2 separate regions of the Homo sapiens genome follow, and region 1 is linked to region 2. The links are contacts of gene promoters, found by promoter capture Hi-C in human tissues and cell types (Jung and others, 2019). All regions are on one chromosome and are shown on one strand. Each heading gives the region's core, a stretch centred on a gene start or on the middle of the fragment in contact. The rest is flanking DNA. Distances are from core to core; before and after follow the strand shown.

Region 1 (3,388 bases), core at 78-2,577, 47 kb before region 2:
GGGAGATGAGAGGAGGGATGAATGGCTCAAGAAGAGGAGGAGATGGGCGCTCAGGGGAAAGCCCAATCAATGGACACTCTTGGGTGCTAGGGACAGTCAAGGGACTTAGGAACAAGGGCATCCAATAACAGGTTTTAACTTAACTATTTTGCTGTGTGACTGCCCTCCCTCTATTCTCAACAACCTTCAAACTTAGCCCCATTTTGCAGCTTGAGGGCGGAGTGCATCAGTGTTCCAGTCAGCAGGAAGCCATTCTCAGAGAAAAAGGAATTTGATTTGAGAGGCCCAATTCTCCTGGCAGAAATGTTGGGGTGTGAAATAAGGCTGCTCAAGTTAAAGGGATCAGAGGCATAGCTCCTGAGGGTTAATTACTGTTAAAGGAAAATTCTCAAAATAGTAAAGCTATGACTGTCACACAAATATAATATGAATATTTTTCAAAGACATTAGTTAAAGAGGGAACCAATAAGGTGTTCAACTGATTTAAAGAATCTGAAGACTACACATATACAGGCAATCATGAATGCCAAAAAGAAGTTGCTAGGAGATGCAAAACTGAAATGGGTTTGCTAATCAGTACTGAAATGAATCTACTAATAGATCGGTTAGTATCTACATGTACTAAAATGTCATGTTTGAAATCTTATTTTCTCTAGGGTGAAAGTCAATTACCCCTATATACCTAATTTTCTTTTGCATTTCTATGGACAAGAATCATTTGGTTACTATCAGTTTTCTGCAACTTATAGATGTTAACCCTGAAGGATCCACTAACCAACCCAGCATTCCATTGAAAGGTACTTAGTAATCTTTTGCCCACCTCAAAGTCTTCCACAATGTTTCCTGACAGTCTTCATCCACCAAATGGGGATGTGCCTACAAGTGAGGGTGTCCAGTGGATTACAGATCTCTCTAAGCTGCCTGGCACTCAGTGGGTGCTCAATCCGTGGGGGCTTTGATTATGATGAAGTCTCAGCAGGATGAGTGTTAACTTTGGGTGACATTCATGAATGTATATCATTCTAAGACAGTCACAAATTGGTAACAGATGTTTCCCCTAGTACAGGCCCTGTCATTTAGATGATGGCTTCATAACTTGAGGTCTACCTGCCGTCACTGTTATACACGATTGGGAACTGGTTCAGAGTTTCCTCTTGAAGGCAAGAAAAATGCAGCACGAACCCACTGTGTGATGCAGCTACTGACACAGTTCATGTAACGAAGCTCATTAATAGAAGGAGAGGCAATATCTGGATCACAGTAGGTAATGAATGAGTCAGAAAACCAAAGCTTAAATATGGGGTTCAATTAGGGGTATTAGATGTTAAGAAGGGTATGGATTAATATGAGAAAATCCAGACAAGGCAGGATAGTGGCGGGCCTGAAAAATCAATTCATATGAGGAACATCTGACAAACTGTGGGGTGCTGAGTTCTGAGAACAGCATACCAATTGGTGATGTTCTTTCTTTCTTTCTTTCTTTTTTTCAAAGACTTCCAAAGCTTTTACACAGGATAAAAAGATGAGTTCAGTGTTTTTCCAAAGGGAAGACCCAACACCAATGCACAGAAGTAAGGGGAGGCGTAGCCTGCTTGCCCAACACAGTGATGAGTAATGTCATGGACATGATGTGAAGTAGTGAGCTTCTGCCCTTGGAAAAGTCAGACAGATGGCAGATGAGCCTTGGAAGGGGTGTTGTGGAAGGCACTCTTGTTTGGAGGAGAGGCTGGGAAGGATGCTGGGTGTATTAGTCCATTCTCACACTGCTACAAAGAACTGCCCGAAACTGGGTAATTTACAAAGGAAAGAGGTTTAATTGACTCATAGTTCCACATGGCTGGGGAGGCCTCAGGAAACTTACTAGTATAATCACCGCAGAAGGCAAAGGGGAAGCAAGGCACCTTCTTCACAAGGTGGCAGGAGAAACAACCAAATACTTATAAAACCAGCAGATCTTGCGAGAACTCACTCACTATCATGAGAATAGCATGGGGGTGACTGCCTCCATAATTCAGTAACCTCCACCTGGTCTCTCCCTTGACACGTGGAGATTATGGGGATTACAATTCAAGATGAGATTTTTGGGTGGGGACAAAGGCAAACCATACTGGACGAGGGTGAGTCCAATTCTAATGCAATATAATCAGGGAGTAAAATCACTCTTACTTAAACCAGTGATGAGGGACTTCCAGATTTGTTTTTGTTTTGGTTCCAGTAGAGTACAAATCAGTGCCTCCTTACCTCACCCTCTTTCTCCACTTCCTCTAACTGAAGTGGTTTGGATGCAGTTTATCTGCCTAAGCCAGGAAGTGCTTATTTGCCTAAGCCAGGAATCCACCCTGAGAGGGTGAATAAAAAGCCACTTGTCTCACCACCCAAGACTTCCTGAGCATAGGCAGCCACCAGCCACATGGCTGATTTCCATCGGCGGCTATCCCAGGAGCCCCGGGCAGGAGCCCCGGGCAGGAGCACCGCATGCTGGCCTCCCTCCCTCACAGGCTCGGTGTGCCCCAGCAGACCTAGCTGCCAGGTAAGCTGTCTACTTTCCGGCTCATGTGAAGGATAAGTTCATCCTATTGTTATTGTCCTCTTTAGACTCCTTTGTAGTTTCAAATTTTCTACCTGGATCTTGAGCTCAGAAAAAGAAATAGAACTTTAAAAAAGTAATCTGAGTCATTAAAACAAAGCATGAGCCTTCTTCCTTGAAGTGTCTTTGTCCTCTAGACAAGTCACAAACAGCAGCTAGAAGGAGGGTAGGCTCCAAGACAAATGATCGAGATTGCTGCTCACTCTCAGCAGAAAAGCACATTGAGATAATAAACCATTTTGGCATAATCAGTTTTATACAGTCTCCATTTTATGCCTTCTGCTAGCGTACAGACATTTAGGGAGCATGAAGTGGCAGGACATTACAAAAGACCACTTCACTGAAATACTCGTTTTTGTTAGCAGTGACAACATGCGTTACCTTCATGTCCACTGACGGGTCCCCCTGCAGCAGTGCCCACTCATACTGGACGATGGCGTGGTCATCTGTGCTCTCGCGGCCGTCTAGAACCACCCCGTCTGTGGGCAGATGCAGAACCACATCCTGCCCAGCCTTGCTAAGTGGAGGCGCATCCTTTTCTGAGAAAGAAAATAAATAATTCATAAAAGATGATTTCTTATTTTTTCTAATTTATGGAGAGGTATCTTGTTTGCTGAATAGATATGATTCGGCAAATAACTGCTAAGAGAATCCATATTAAATGGAAATTATTTTTCTATTTATTTTATGATCGTGGAATTTAGCTATAATATGCGCAGAAGAGGCTGTGTGGAGTGTTGGCTGGTAGCGATTTTGGGTACAAGGCAGCATACGAGGTCCCACCAATGTGTAAATATGGAG
Region 2 (3,304 bases), core at 570-3,069:
AAAGTAACCATGGACTATCGGCAGGGCTCTATCTCTGGGGCTGGGGGATAAGGGGTTGTCTGCTCAGAGGACAGTGGGTCAAGCGTTTGAAGGAGCCGAGGAATGCACATTTTTTACATGTCCCCTATGTGGTTCTCTGTCTGCTAAGGTTAAAGAACCTCAATTTTGAGGGTGCACTTCCACCTCTTGGTCTGGAGAAGGGGTCTCAAATCTGTCCTGAGTGGAGCCTGTTCTGTACACATCCAGGCCCTGAGAGTACACAGAGAGGAACTCACTGCTACCGCCCTGCCAATACTGCTGCTGTGGGGACACCAGCGGGGGTGGGCCAAGAACAGAGTGTATGTGTGTGTTTGTGTGTGTGTGTGTGTGTGTGCATGGGTGCTTGTGTGTGTGTGCGTGCATATGTGTGATATGACCACTGAGTAGCTCCTTAGCAGGGCCAATATTTTCTACAAGTCTGATGACTCACAGGAAGGAGCACACCAGGCCTATACTTGGGTCCTGACATCTGGGATGCCAACCTAACACTGAAGAAAAAGAAAGAGCTGCAGACAGGCTGGGAAAAATATACAGAAAGGGGAAAGGGGCCCTTCCACCTTTGTTGCCCTCTGTGGTCCTGAATCTCAGCTTGGCCTGAGCCAACCTGAAGATGGGAAGGAATAGCCATTTTCCAACTGCAAAATGTCAGCTTCAGGCAATGGTTTCAAAACTGAAGTAATGGTTACATATGAAGTAGATTTTTGTTTGTTTTGTTTTTTGAGACCAGGTCTTGCTCTGTCATCCAGGTGGAGTGCAGTGGCATGAGCACGGCTCACTGCAGCCTTGAACTCCCAGGCTCAATCAGTCCTTCCACTTCAGCCTCCAGAATAGCTGGCACTACAGGCATGAGCCACCACACCCAGCTAATTTTTAAATTTTTGGTGTGGAGATGGGGTCTCATCACGTTGCCCAGGCTGATCTCGAACTCCTGGGCTCAAACAATCCTCCCCCCTCAGCCTCCCAAAGTGTTGGGATTACAGGAGTGAGCCACCACACCCGGCTGAAATGGAATTTTAATTGAAGTAAGAAGCGGGTGATAAGGAAAGTGAAACCAATAATTTCACATAGTCCCTGGAAGCCCGTTGCTATAAAGAACTTTCAGCCTGAAGTCCAAAGAGAGACGAAAATTTTAAAATGAATTGGACTGCAGTTTTCAATCCCTGAAAATGAGTCACAGCCTTTTTGTGGCAGTGTGCCCTGGGCTTCTAACCGTCCTCTCCCTGCCCCAGCTGCCTTGAGGTCCCGGCCAATGGTTTCAACACTCAGGCTAGGAATGCCAAGGCCCGGCAGAGCGAGGCTGTGGAAGCCTTGGCATAAGCGGAAGGGAGGATCTGAGGGAGAATGGGACAAGAGAAGTCGGAAAGAAGGAGTTAGGGCAGGAGAACAAGGAGAAATCCCTGTCCCCCAAATTGGAGAGAGGGGCGATTGGGACTCCAGACTGGAAGGAGGCACGGATCCCTGAGTGCTTGGTGTGGAGGCAGAGGACCCGCAGAGCCACCCCGTCCTCCCTGCCTTATCCAGCGTCCCCGCCGCCACACCCCCAGCATCTCCCCCAACCCCACTTTTACTTCATTATCTGCCCCTGGTTCTCTCACCACTCGAGCCCCTGCTTTCCTCCTTCACTCCCAAACATGCACACGTTCCCTCTGCACGGGTGTTTGGAACACCAGCCATCCCCCACCCCCTACCTTGTGCCAGCAGGAGATGTTTGTCCTTCTGCCGTCTCTAGGATGGAGAGGCCTGAGGTGACTGCTTCCTCAGAGTCTCTGTGCAAACTCTCTGAGGAGCAGAAACCAGTTCAGTCTCTCTGGGTGTGGAGAGGCCGGCCTAGCAGAACACCCGTCCACCATGCAAACCGGGTGGGGCCACCTGTCAACTGTCACGTGTGAGTGATTCTAGGACAGGGTAACTCGTCCAGAATTGGATCCAATTCAGTACTGGATTCACCATCAGTAGAAGGACCAAGACCAGACTCAAGTCCCAGCCACGAAATTCTAGAAAGGATTTAATGTAATTTTAGCAGTTGTTGGAGACCAGCATGTGATGGCATACATATGTTTTCCTTGATATGTAGGTGGGGGCCCCCACCTTTTTTCAGGGTTTAGGCTTCTGCAGGTCCTGGCATAGCTGTGACAGCGGCCCTACCTCATTTCTGGTGGGTGCTGGCTCCCTCTATTGCTTGGTTTCTGTGCAAACACTGCATTATCGTCCTGCCCTCTTGAGACCTGGAGCTCCTGCCCCCTGAGCTCGTGTTCGCACTGTGTGTCACTGAACCTCGCTGTTTTCTTCTTGCAACTCCATTCCCCTCTGCAACTGGAAGACCAGCACTTCTCCTGAGTCTTCCTTAAAAGACACCCTGCCCACTTCCTTACAAAGCCCCCACCAAAGTGACACCAGCTACTTGTGAATGTAGCCAACTTTACTGAAGATTTAGAGGTTATGTTATAAGGCTGTGAATAATTTAAAAAAAAAATCACCTATTTGCTCGACCTCTTTCTTATCTCTTCTTTGGACTAGAAATAAAATATCTATGATTTGACCACACTGTCATCTAGTACTCGACCCTGGTTCTAGGCCACCGTCCTCCTGGCCAGGGTGATTGCAGTGCTGCCCTACTTGGTTCTCCGTGCCTGTCCCCACCTCCCAAATGGCTACAGCGCAGCCAGAGTGATCTTCAGAACCTCATCACTCACGCCCCCCTCTGCTCCAATTCTCCAAAAGTGCCCTTTTTCTCTCAGTAAAACCAAAGTCACTACAGATGCCTAGAGAGCCCTGCACAGTCTGGCCAGCTGTCCATTATGCCCCCTCACTCGCTCAGTTCCGACCTCCACCCTCGGCCTCCTTGCTGGTCTTCAGAGCCCTGCAGATGTCCCCGTGCCTTGGGACTTTGCATTGCCCTCCCTTCAGCATGGACTGCCCTTCAGGCATCTGCCCGGCTCACTCCCACTCCTGCTCCCAGGTGGCACACCCTTCCACGCCTGGTTCTCCCTGCCCCTCGCATTTGGAACCCTTGTATTTCTTTCTTTCTTTCTTTTTTTAAAATTGTGGTATGATTCATGTAACGTGATTTTTCATCTTAACCACTGTTAAATGTAAAGGCCTCTATTTCATAATGGGAGACCTCTGCCTGCCCAGGCCATCCTGGACCTTCTTCACCTGAACTTGTTCCCCTAAAGCAATGACCACTTTAAAACATACCTTAGTAAGCCGCGCACAGTGGCTTACACCTGTAATCCCAGCATTTTGGGAGGTCAGGGAGGCTGGA

Evidence for each region. The method cuts DNA at HindIII sites, captures the fragments that hold promoters and counts their contacts. A contact is called where the count stands out against the background at its distance.
Region 1: a contact is called between a fragment that was not itself captured here and the fragment with the promoter of RAET1E in region 2, in 1 of the 25 tissues and cell types used here (psoas muscle).

What each region holds. Positions count from the first base shown.
Region 1 is chr6:149,850,035-149,853,422 of GRCh38, forward strand. LRP11 (LDL receptor related protein 11) reads right to left here. Exons shown (of 7, transcript NM_032832.6): 2 at 2,969-3,126. RAET1E-LRP11 (RAET1E-LRP11 readthrough) reads right to left here. Exons shown (of 15, transcript NR_182438.1): 10 at 2,969-3,126. It overlaps LOC124901427 (a long non-coding RNA gene), which reads left to right and starts at 2,380. Exons shown (of 2, transcript XR_007059808.1): 1 at 2,380-2,530; 2 at 2,950-3,157. The HindIII fragment of the contact is 3,383 bases long and covers 1-3,019 here.
Region 2 is chr6:149,896,294-149,899,597 of GRCh38, forward strand. It overlaps RAET1E (retinoic acid early transcript 1E), which reads right to left and starts at 1,820. Exons shown (of 6, transcript NM_001394057.1): 1 at 1,728-1,820. All of the region lies in intron 1 of RAET1E-AS1 (RAET1E antisense RNA 1), which reads left to right. RefSeq lists a silencer at 2,080-2,374. The HindIII fragment of the contact is 8,770 bases long and covers 1-3,304 here.